Regions from separate parts of the Homo sapiens genome. Here all the other regions are linked to region 3. Evidence: promoter capture Hi-C in 16 types of primary human blood cells and fetal thymus (Javierre and others, 2016). All regions are on one chromosome and are shown on one strand. The core of a region is centred on a gene start or on the middle of the fragment in contact, and the rest is flanking DNA. Distances in the headings are between cores, read along the strand shown. Region 1 overlaps ZDHHC17 (zDHHC palmitoyltransferase 17). Region 2 overlaps NAP1L1 (nucleosome assembly protein 1 like 1). Region 3 holds the start of BBS10 (Bardet-Biedl syndrome 10).

Region 1 (4,071 bases), core at 719-3,218, 450 kb after region 3:
AGAATTAAATTTGAAGGGCAAGTCCCTTCCATTACCCTTCTTTCACAATATTCCTGAACTCACTATACTTAGTATACTATACTATACATCTGGGATTAGCATAGACGCAACAAGTCAAGGGCTCAGTCCCACAAGACTGAAGTCCCCACTTCAGATGCCAGTCACAAATCAGGCCTCCAGTATTTCTGGACTGACTGGCTATAAATTGGGTTCCCATGACTCCCTCCTCAGATTTGATAATTTGCATAAGTTGCTCACAGAACACAGGGAAACACTTTACTTACATTTTTCAGTTTATTATAAAGGATACAACTCAGGAACAGCCAGATGAAAGAGATGTATGGGAGGAGGTCTGAGTAGGGGAGTGTGGTTTCCATGCTCTCTCCAGGCATACTACCCTCTCAGAACCTTAATGTCTCCACCAATCCAGAAACTCGTCAAATGTTGTTTCAGGAGGTTTTATAGAACTTAATATTCAGCACCTCATTCTCCTTTCTGGAGGTCAGTAAGAAGAGTTGAAAATTCCAGCTCTCTAATCACTTGGTCATTCTAGTCACCAGCCCCCTCCTGAGTTTATGCTATATAGGCTCCACTCCAGGTCACTTCATTGGCATAAACTCTGGTGTAGTCAAAAGGGACCTTTAATGAATGACAAAAAACAGTCCTATCACTCAGAAATTTTAAGCATTTTAGGAGCCTTGTGCCGTGAACCTGGGACAAAGACGGATTACACTTATACCACAATAGGTCTAGCATTTTAAAAAGTTAACTAGTTTGCACATAGACACTTGGCGAATAGTTGATTGGTTATATAATCCCATCAAGGTATGCAAATAAACATGTATTATGGCATCTCTCATTGGCATATAAACTAGTATTTGCCCTATACCTGCTGTATAAGATTGAGTCTTGTCATGTTGATTTCTCTTTGCTGCAGTGTTTATCGCAGCTCAGCTTATCCCAGCTCTTCCCATTCCTGTCTACTATTCCTGTCTACTATCTGCTACCTATAGTAGCAGATTTTGGAGGTAATTTCTCTCCTTCCAGTTCTCTTCAAAGCCAGGACTATTAAAACAAACAAAAAAACCTTCTGACTGTCAACTAGATAATGTTAAGAATCTTCCAAGTGACTATAATTTTAAAAAAATATATGAAATCATTTTATGTTCCCCTTAGAACTTGGAGAATGTCTAATCTAGAAGTTTCAGAACTTTTTTTTTAGAAAGCAGCTAAACCTTTAATTGAAGAAATCTTGTATAAAGCTGCATGTCCTGGGGTTCCTACATAAGCAAACCCAAACCCAATTCAATGAAAACAGTGACATCAAACTTAAGTCTAACTAGAGACATTATCAGTTAGAAATCACCAACTGACCTCTAACTTGGGACCTTTTACTGGATCATGATCAAATAAGGCAAATGCCTAGCTAGCTATGGCTGATCAAGTAATTGCTTTGCTTCCAAGTTCAGCCTGTTGAAACCCTCTGCTCATGCTCTGAAGCTGAGCTTGCTGAACCTCTTTTGGTTATTAGTGTTGTCAGATTCGTGAGTTGTCCTTTGCTCAGATAAACTCTGCTAAATTTAATTTGCTTAAAGTTTTTAATACCCAGTATCTAAAAACAAATAATGAAGTGCTTTGTTTAAGACGGGAATGAGGCTGAGTGCAGTGGCTCCTGCCTGTAATCCCAGCACTTTGGGAGGCCGAAGTGGTAGATCACTTCAGGCCAGGAGTTTGAGACCAACCTGGCCAACATGGTGAAACCCTGTCTCTACTAAAAATAGAAAAATTAGGCAGGTGTGGTGGTGTGTGCCTGTAGTCCCAGCTACTCAGGAAGCTGAGGCAGGAGAATGGTTTGTACCTGGGAGGCGGAGGTTGCAGTGAGCTGAGATCATGCCACTGCACTCCAGCCTGGGTGACAGAGTGAGGCTCTGCCTCAAAAGAAGGGAATGAGTGTGTGGAGTTTGAAATCTCTGAGCTCTTCCACTTTTACCTTGAGGCACCTCAGAGGAACTTTTTGCTTATTTTATCCAAATCCCGTTTTACGAAGGAGAGATCTGTACCCTATAGTAGTTAATTGACTTGTTAGGTGTACCCTAGGTAGGGGAGTGGCGGACTTTTATTCATTAGCCTCTCAGTCGTGGATTTTTTTCTATTATACCAAGCTGCTTCTAATGGAATTACTGCGTTCTTAAAAGTTACAATGACACACATACATATTTTTAAATTAGTATTGCTTTTCTTGGTAGAAATAGCAATTAAATTGCTTCTTGGTTTCCATTAACATCGAGGAAAAATTACAGGATTTTATTTTATTTTTTTGAGACAGAGTCTCACTCTGTTGCCCAGGCTGGAGCACAGTGGCGCGATCGTGGCTCACTGCAAGCTCCACCTCCTGGGTTCATGCCTTTCTCCTGCCTCAGCCTCCCGAGTAGCTGGGACTACAGGCGCCTGCCACCATGCTGGGCTAAATTTTGTATTTTTTAGTAGAGACGGGGTTTCACTGTGTTAGCCAGGATGGTCTCAACCTCCTGACCTTGTGATCCACCTGCCTCTGCCTCCCAAAGTGCTGAGATTACAGGCGTGAGCCACTGCACCCGGCCAAATTACAGGATTTTAAAGAGTTTAATGAACTAAATATTTGTATGTTGAAAATATATTTAATATATAATAGCAAATTTTTAGCTTAAAAATTATTATCTATGTTAGATATGCTTATTTATATGAACATGTTAAAAATATGTTTTATAATTAGAACTGTTACTCCTAGGCCTATTGATAGTTGTGATTATCTTGATAGAGTGTTGTCATTTGTCACATTGACAAGGTACTAGTCCTAGAGATAAACCAGTATCCAGTCTGTTTAAAAGTGAGAAATAAAGTTCTTTATTACAAAATTTGTTAGGTAATAAAGCAGGTTGGAGATTTTCATATATACCTTTTCTTTAGTGAGTATAACTCTGCCACTGTAGAATTATTTGAGATATGTTTAGTTAAAGGCATATTTTAAAAAATAGATACCTTTTACTAAGGAAATAAAAACAACCTTATCGGAGGCACAAAACAGATACTTACATAGGTTAATTTTAATATGTTACTGGAAAAAAAAAGTCTAATTTCCAGTAACATTTTTAAGCTCGCATTTGGCAATGTCAGTGAAACAAACTGAGAATACAATTTAATCATTATGTACAGTAAATGAGGTCTCTGGGCATGAAAATAAAATTAAAGTTTCTTGAAAACTTTATGATAGTAATCCTCAGAAAGAGACTTATTTTTATTCTATGAATATTATTGGTATGTAAAAGCAATGTATTTGTCCATAGTAAAAAAGAATAGCATTTTGCCGTAGCACATTTTCAAAGTTTTTTCAAGTTATGTTATTACCTTTTGGATATTATGTTGCCCTCATCTGTGTTTTTACTTATTATTGGAAGGCTCTTGCTTATAATATTTGACTTATTTTTCTTCTCTACTTTGTCTTTCCATTCTGGATTGGAAGTCCTTCAGGATGACAGGCTATATTTTGTATACATGCACAGTGATGCTCTGAGCTATAGTGGAGCCTGAAGCAAAAGGAAGAGTTAGTGATTCTGATGCTGTCTCTGTTTTAAAATGTTGATGTTTGGTTCATGGGTGTGTGTGTGTGTGTGTGTGTGTTTTGTTGCATTGGTTTTGTTTTAAAAATATTCCATTAAAACGTTGTTGTTTTTGTTGTTGTTGATCTTGATTACTGCGTTTTTTGACAACCTCTTTAACGTTGCACATGTCTTACCCTATCCTGGGTGGGGTCCAAGTGTACATTGTAGAGAGCTTTATGTATAGCAGGCTCTCAATACATGTTTTGTTGGGTATATTATTCTGTTCTCCCTGAAAGATGTGATCAAGTTTTTATTCTTTTTCAGGTATCTTACAGCCATATAGATGTCAAAGTTGGAGTTTAAAAAAATTATTTTCCTTGTGGTTGGAGAGAATAGAATCAGAAAAGAAAATTTAGAAATAAGAAAGTGTTACTGGCTTAGAAGTATTTTACTTTACCTTAACCCCACTGAATATAGAGCATAGAGAGATTGA
Region 2 (4,281 bases), core at 856-3,355, 280 kb before region 3:
AGCTCACTGCAACCTCTGCCCCCCAAGCTCAAGCAATTCTCGTGCCTCAGCCTCCTGAATAGCTGGGACTACAGGAGTGCGCCACTGCACCTGGCTAATTTCTGTATTTTTAGTAGAGACAGGCTGGGCTGGTCTCAAACTCCTGGCCTCAGGTGATCCTCCCACGTCCGCCTTCCAAAATCCTGGGATTACAGGCATAAGCCACCACGCCCAGCCTATTTCTGGAAGAACTTTGATTTAGTATAAACTTTAAGTGTTTGATAAGTGTACACACTTAACGGTCACTGGTTACAGATAACTGGAGCATCTCCTCCTCTCGTGTCTTTAATCAATTGAACATCTATATCCAAAGGCTTTAAAACAGCTGTCCACAAACTATGCCCATGTGGCCAAATCCAGCCCACCCTATTATTGTAAATAAAATTTTATTGGAACACAGATGCACTACATTTATGTATTGTCTGCTTTCACACTACATCAGCAGAGTTGAGTACAGTCATCCCTCAGAGTCTATGGTGGACTGGTTCCAGGAAACCTCCCTACCAAAATCCTGGGATGTTCAAGTCCCTTATATAAAATGGCACAGTAATTACAACTAACCTATGCACATCCTCCTGCATACTTTAAATCACCTCTAGATTACTTATAATAATACTATATACCATATAAACGTTATGTAAATAGTTGTATTATGCTGGGCCAGACAAAGTGGCTCATGCCTACAATCCCAACATTCCGGAAGCCAAGGCAAGAGGATCACTGGAGGCCAGGAGTTCAAGACCAGCCTGATTAACACAGTAAGAATTCTCTATTAAAAACAAAACAAACAAACAATAGTTGTTATGTTCTATTGCTTATTTGTATTTATTATTGTGCTGTTATATTTTATTGTTTTTTACCCTAATATTTTCCATCTGCAGTTGGTTGAATTCATAGATGCAAACTCATGGATGCTGAACCCACAGACACAGAGGGCCAACTGCAGTTAGAGAATCGTATGTGGCCCAAAATGCTGAAAATGTTTACCACCAAGCCTTTTACAGAGAAAGGTTTACTGACTCTGGTTTTCAAGCACAAGACTCCCCTCTGACTTCCACCCTCCCAGGGCTAACAGGCATCCAAAATTAAATAATAAGGAAGGGGGAAATCAAGCTGTCACAACCAATTTACTCTTTTTAAAGTTTAAAATGAGAGTTGCAAAGTTAAGATGGCAGATGCCACAAACTCATCTGATCTTAATCCTTCTAAAATCTCCACTAAAATTATGATAAAGGGTTTTTTTGTTTTGTTTTGTTAGCAGGCTAACACTGAAATCAAAGAAAACAAGGGCAGCAACATTTTGGAAGCTGGAAACCAGACAAGTGATAATTTCATTGAGAGAACTGAAATCTAAGATTAGCAGTGGGGAAAGCTGAGAAGCAGCCCAATCAGTCTTCAAAAGGATAAGAACTGGTAGCACCAGGTACATTTCTAGAACTAGGGCAAGGGGTGGGACAGGAGAGAAGGTCGCTAAAACAAGAAAGTAAAAACTGATAAGCAGTTAAATCATTAGATCTTCTCTACACTAGCAGAAATATTCAGTTTCCTCTCAGGAAAGGGTAAAATTCAGAACTTGGACTGGAAGACAACAGACACAGTCAACAGTATCAAAGATATAGGACTATGTACACATTAGAATGCTAAATGTAGAGCCTCCTCTACATTTAAAGGAACACCAGAAGCCAGATCTTTACCCAGACACTGTTCAACGATGAATCTGACTAGCCCAGAAAAAAAAAAAAATGACCATTCTAACACTGGGGTTTCTAACAAATGCCCACTCTGGTGACCCTACACTGAAATCCCAAATTAACAAGCCTCCCCACTCCAACGCTCAAATTTTCCAATCAATTTTCTTTTTTAAACATGTCTGAAGTGTCCCTACACCCCACCCAATCCAATCTTAATGAGCAGCCAACCAAGTATTGATTTATATTTGAGGAAAGCATCCTAGATTGAGACCAAAACAAATGAGAGAAAGAAAATGTAAGAGCAAATGGACTATAAAGATGGAAGAAACATCCAGAGAAAAGACATTATCATCAATGAAACAAGAAGAGGATGCTATTTAAAAAAAAAAAAAAACAAAAAAACAGGAAGAACGAAGCAGGTCTTGGAAACTAAAACAACAGAAATTTTAAAACTCAACACAAGCTGAAAGTCTTCAGTTCTGTCCAGAAAGAAGAGCAAAGAGACAGAGATGGAAAATAGGACAAAAGGTCATGAGAGCAATCCAACACACAACATCTAATAGTAGCTCCAGAAAGAGAAAACAAATGAGACAATCACAAAGTTCAATCAAGAATATCCCTGAACTAAAAGCCACTGAATTGCTGCACTGAAAGGGTCCACCACTGAATATGTAACATTAAGAGAAAAAAATAATAATGTGAAAATTTCAGAACTCTGAAGCCAGAGTAGCTTCCAGAAATGTATATATAGTGTAAATGTACATATTTCTTAATTATCACACACAAATGGTTAGTTACAATGACTCTGAACTTCAACACAGCAACACTGGAAGCAAGGTGACAATGGAGCAATGCCTTCAAAATTCTGAAGAAAAATGATCCCATCTTACTATCCTACACCCAAACTATCCGGCATAAAGGTAGAATAGTCGTTTTCAGTCATGACATGTCTTAAAATAATTTAGCTCCCTTGTACTCTTCCAAGAAGGTACTAACAAACCGAGAAAGCAATGTGAGATATGGCAAACAACAAACCCAAGAGGAGAAACAAGGTGAAACCTCAGGAAGATAGTAAAATAGATCCAATGACAGCCATGTCACCAAGGTTAAGCAATCCAAATTAGAGGTGTGACACAGGAGACAATCACTTTGGGAACCATTATTATTAAAAATGCCGTTTCCACTCTTCTCGTTTTTTTTAATGCTGAAGACAGAATGCATAAGTCACTCATCTGTTTTTTTTTAATGCTGAAGATAAAATGCGTAAGAGTGGCCCAAATTCTTATTTGTACTTCTATGTGTTGATCTTGTACTGAAGTTTCCAGCCCTCCCACTATCATTCGCTGATGCCTACAACAGCTATGGAAAATAATTTAGCATCCCCTCACTCCCAAGTGCTCTATTTTAACACGGGCTACTGTAAAATTACACGCAACAAACACTGTGTACCTCATCCCATTCTTCCTGACCCTGTTTCTATAAAACATCCATCCACATTAGAATCCTGCCACATGCCAACTTGATTAAACCTATACTTCCCAGGACACATGACCTTGCCCAATACTTCTCCACAATAAGTCTTTTATAAAGCCTCACAAAACTTGAGGCCAGACTATGACCCAGATAGTCTTTCTTCCTTGTTATCCTATCTTATAGCCTTCAATTAACAGTGGCAAAGTGGCAATGTTGCTTTACATAGCTAACTTTGTGATCACTATTCAGATTTTCAAAATTAAACACTGATTATTTATAGGTGGTAAAGCTCTGAAGGAAAGCAAAGAAAAGAATTAGCAAAAGCCAGGATAGCACTTACATGTCTGCAAGGGAAAGGTGCAATTGAGAAGGGGCACACAAGGCTTCTGATAGTAATGTTCTATTTTTAACTTGTCTGAATATTCCTTAAGCTCTATATATAAATACATTTTATACACATTTTGGGTGTTTGGTACATTACAATGCAAGCAGTAAATCTTTGGGAAATATATACAATAAAAATGAATTCTGCAAGTATTTATAATCCATTATCATGCTCAGCATTTTCTTAAAAATAGTGACAAATGGTTTAGTATATACGATGGTTTCGAATATATGATCATAAATATGCTAATGATCATATATTCTATATTTTACCTTGAATACACTGCACTAGACTTTTGTAAAAGTAGGTACTAAGCATTAGTAACTACATTTTCATAATATATAATTCATACTACTTGCTGTTAAGAACAGAGTACAAAGTGATGCCAAATCTCTGAAAAAGAACCAACTCTCTGCCACTTACTTGTCAATGTCTGCCATGTTGTAAGAACTCCAAATATCTATGGAGAGAAACATCAATGTTAAAAAAAAAGTATATGATTTATTAAAAAAAAATAAGAAACCAAAACCCTTTAAATCAATACCATACTGAAAACTATCCCAAGAAATGTCTATTTCCTTTAAAATACTATCAGTGTTAAGAAGAAAAAACTCATGGAACATGCAAATTCTTCCTTACTAGTACCAAAAATAATTTTTCAGAGGATATTACTTAAAACAAAAAAGTTACCAC
Region 3 (4,012 bases), core at 154-2,653:
CCCCTGCATAATAACTAACTAAATCTGGTTGTTTCACACTAGATATGAGCAATTTTACATTCTGACTATGTAGATGTTTCATTATTGCTTTTGTCTTTTCCATAATCCAAAATTGAGATGTCTGAAACTGTGCTTCTGAATTTAGAATAAACTCTGATCCAGAAGTGGAAAAAAGAGGCTGAATGGTTTCTGTTACTATCACCATTCGCATGTCACCATCTGCTGGGCGGTACACAGAAAAATCTTTCTGAAGCACAAGACCAGCTATGATCCTGGAATCTGAAACAGGAAGGCCAGTGACACCAACATTCAACTCTACAAAATGGTCATCCACTAACTCAAATACACCAATCCCACTTTTACAAGTCATACACTTGAAAAAGTAGTCACACATCAACTGTGAAATAAATTTATGATTATTTCTTCCCACTCTTCCACAAAAGTATGCTTCTAAGAGCAACTCTAAAGAGCTCCTACACAATGTTCTCTCTTTAGCAGACGAAAAGATAGACAAAAAGTGTCTACTTAGGTACTGGTCCATAATACCGTCTAATATTTGTGTCTGAAACGTTAGGAGAGCCTGGGAAATAAATTTCCACCGAGAACAATTTTTCCAATGCCTTCCATGGGTTTGAATGTTTTCACACATCAAAGGATCCTTTTCTCTGTCTGTGATTGCATGAAGTCCTCTAAGCAAATGGCAAAGAAAGATAATAAATGTTTTTGCACCATCTCCTGTTTTTTTGAGATGACTGGAAACACAGTCCACTATCATCCTGTACAAAAAAGAAATAAAGCAACTCATTTTCAGAAGGCTGGCTTCCCACATCTTAAAACCATGTTTACACAGCCATAAGCATAAAATGAGAATATTGTTCCTTGGATACATCCTTAGTTTTTTCCTTTCTTGGAAAAAACTCTGCTCTATTCCAAGATTCCACCGTTGGGTGGAGTGGGGAGAAGTGGTCTTGAGAATTGGTAAGATTTGGGGTGCAGGAGTGTTCCCTTGGGCAGGGCTCTAATTCCGAGCATACAGCGGTTTCACCCGAGGTCAGTCTTTCTAAGTACGCATCGCCTCAGGATGGGACAAGAGCTCCACAGAGGCTGCCTGGGGTGCCCGGCTACGGGTTAGCGTGTGGGACGCGGGTACCTGGCTATGGGATGCTCTAAGTGTAGCGCCTCCAGGAGGCGGCCTCCATTCCGGCTGAGAAGCACCTCGCCAGTGGGCTTCGTACACAAAACTTGCCGTCCCTCGGGCCCCACGCAGCAGCTCACGATGGCTTCCAGCACCTCGGCCACCTGCAACGCCGCCTTCACAGACCCTGCAGCGGCCATAGAACTTAACATATCTGGGCCGCTTCCCCTTTTTGACCAGCTTGCAGAACACCCGGGCCGACCGAAAACAGGGGTGGGAACGGCCGGAAACGGAATAGGCGGGGAGAAAACCCGGAAGCCAGGAGTCGAAGCCGGGGTAGCACGGCTTCTTGGTTGGGCGAGAGGGCTGCCCTTCTGTCCGCCTGGTGGAAAAGCCCTGCAGCTTTGCCAGGTGGGGTGAGCTGGCCCGTTGTACGCGAAGGCAGAAAAAACAGACTAGGATTTCCAGCAGCTGTGCCTGGAGCGGCAACCCTAAGCCCCTCCCCGGCTCCCTAGGTGAATTCATCTCCCTCCAGTGGCGTCCGCTGCCCCCAAATCCCTTAGTCTCCCGAGAAACTTTCTTCCTAAGTCAACACGGTAGTGGGGCCTGCGTGAAGGAGAGGGCACCCCGGTTGGAACTCTGCTGGCTTTCATCCCCTGCCAGAAGCTGCTTTTTCCGGGGCAAAACCTCTGCCTTGGATTCACGCATGTTCCTGTCCACATTCCCCACGAGTTGCTCTCCTTACCATAACGGAAATAATTTGTAGATGCAGGACAGGTGAGGAGAGCCTGGCCACAGCCATGAATTGCAGGCTTTATGTCTGCTGCAGAGGCTTTACCACATTTCCTAGACTCAGGTATCACAATAAAACTCTAGACACCACAAATATATTAAGCAGAAATGATGCGAAGTCTCTATTTTTTGAGATGGACTCCCGCTCTGTCGCCCAGGCTGGAGTGCAGTGGCGCAATCTCGGCTGACTGCAACCTCCGCCTCCCGGGCTCAAGCGATTCCCGTGCCTCAGCCTCTCAAGTAGCTGGGATTACAGGCATACGCCACTGTGCCCCGCCAATATTTGTATTTTTAGTAGAGATGGGGATGTCACCATGTTGACCAGGCTGGTCTCGAACTCATGACCTGAATGATCCACCTGCCACGGCCTTTCAGAGTGTTGGGATTACAGGCATGAGCCGCTGTGCAGATTTAAATCCATTAATCACGTCGGTGATCAACAGTATGCTTTAAAACACATGGCCAAGGATTATTGTATATAACCCAAAGACAGAAAATACTGTCTCTTATAACATTTTTTTTGTTTTTTAAGAGATGAAGTTTCACTCTGCCGCCCAGGCTGGAGTGCAGTGGCGAGATCATAGCTTACTGCAGCTCCGCATTCCTGAGCTCGTGATCCTCCTGTCTTAGCCTTCAAGTCGCTTTGTGCCTCACTACGCCTGGTTATTTTCTCTTTTAGTAGAGACAGGGTCTCCCTGTGTTGCCCAGGCTGATCTTGAATTCCTGGCCTCAAGTGATCCTCCCAACTTGGCCTTCCAAAGTTTTAGGATTACAGGCATGAGCCACCTTGCCTGGCCTAAAACACAGGCACTTGAGAGCATGGGCTTTGGATTCAGACCTGGATTTGCTCTGTCATTTCCTTACCTGTGGCATTCACCAAGTAACCTCTTTGATCTCTGCTTTTCTCATCTTTAAAAACAATGGGCCTGCCGCAGTGGCTCATGGCTGTAATTCCAGGACTTTGGGAGGCCGAGGTGGGAGATCACAGGAGGCCGAGAGTTCAAGACCAGCATGGCCAACATAGCAAAATCCCGTCTCTACTAAAAATACAAAAATTAGCTGGGCATGGTGGTGCATGCTTGTAATCCCAGCTACTCTGGAGGCTGAGGTATGAGAATAATTTGAACTCGGGAAGGGAGGTTGCAGTGAGCCAAGATTGCACCACTGCACTCCAGCCTGGGCGACAGAGCGAGACCTTGTCTCAAAACAAAACAATCCCCGCCAAAAAAACCAGTGGAGATAACATATACAAAATAAAAATCTCAAGAGGTTTTGAGTAGGTGGAGAATGTTCACTAAACACTTTGCATAGTGCCTGGCATAGTTAGCACTCAACAGATATTTATATTACACCTGTTAGAGGAAAAGGGTCCCAATCCAGACCCCAAGAGAGGGTTCTTGGATCTCATGCAAGAAAGAATTCAGGACGAGTCCATAAAGTGAAAGCAAGTTTATTAAGAAAGAGGAATAAAAGAATGGTTACTCCATAGGCAAAGCAGCCCCAAGGGCTGCTGGTTGCCGATTTTTATGGTTATTTCTTGATGATATGCTAAACAAGGAGTGGATTATTTATGCCTCCCCTCTTTAGGCCATATAGGGTAACTTCCTGACATTGCCATGGCATTTGTAAACTGTCTTTGGTGCTGGTGGGAGTATAGCAGTGAGGACAACCAGAGGTCACTCTCGTGGCCATCTTGGTTTTGGTGGGTTTTGGCTGGCTTCTTTACTGCAACCTGTTTTATCAGCAAGGTCTTTATGACCTGTATCTTGTGCCAACCTCCTATCTCATCCTGTGACTTAGAATGCCTTAATCATCTGGGAATGCAGCCTAGATCTTAGCCTCATTTTACCCAGCTCCTATTCAAGATGGAGTTGCTCTGGTTCAGATGCCTCTGACGCACCCACCAAATTACTGGAGTTGCTCTGGTTCAGATGCCTCTGACGCACCCACCAAATTACTGTGGTAGGTCACCACTCTCCTGGTTTATTATTCCCACAAGTGATATTTTGTGAGATGCAGAAGATTCAACTAGCATAATGGCACAACATACATCATCTAGAGTCGAAGCATGCCAGTATTAGCAAG

The links. Contacts are between HindIII fragments. The CHiCAGO score rates a contact against its expected background, and 5 or more counts as called.
Region 1: a contact is called between a fragment that was not itself captured here and the fragment with the promoter of BBS10 in region 3, in 1 of 17 cell types (neutrophils). The highest score is 6.7, in neutrophils.
Region 2: a contact is called between a fragment that was not itself captured here and the fragment with the promoter of BBS10 in region 3, in 4 of 17 cell types (M0 macrophages, M1 macrophages, M2 macrophages and 1 more). The highest score is 7.3, in M0 macrophages.

What each region holds. Positions count from the first base shown.
Region 1 is chr12:76,791,585-76,795,655 of GRCh38, forward strand. The region is part of intron 1 of ZDHHC17 (zDHHC palmitoyltransferase 17); the gene reads left to right. Among named protein-coding and RNA genes, the nearest start is that of ZDHHC17, 30 kb to the left of the region's middle. The HindIII fragment of the contact is 6,806 bases long and covers 1-4,071 here.
Region 2 is chr12:76,070,192-76,074,472 of GRCh38, forward strand. NAP1L1 (nucleosome assembly protein 1 like 1) reads right to left here. Exons shown (of 15, transcript NM_004537.7): 2 at 4,012-4,048. The coding sequence starts at 4,028. Among named protein-coding and RNA genes, the nearest start is that of NAP1L1, 12 kb to the right of the region's middle. The HindIII fragment of the contact is 4,355 bases long and covers 1-4,281 here.
Region 3 is chr12:76,347,012-76,351,023 of GRCh38, forward strand. It overlaps BBS10 (Bardet-Biedl syndrome 10), which reads right to left and starts at 1,404. Exons shown (of 2, transcript NM_024685.4): 1 at 1,151-1,404; 2 at 1-776. The coding sequence starts at 1,347. RefSeq lists enhancers at 710-1,659, 1,660-2,609, 1,756-1,805. The HindIII fragment of the contact is 11,737 bases long and covers 1-4,012 here.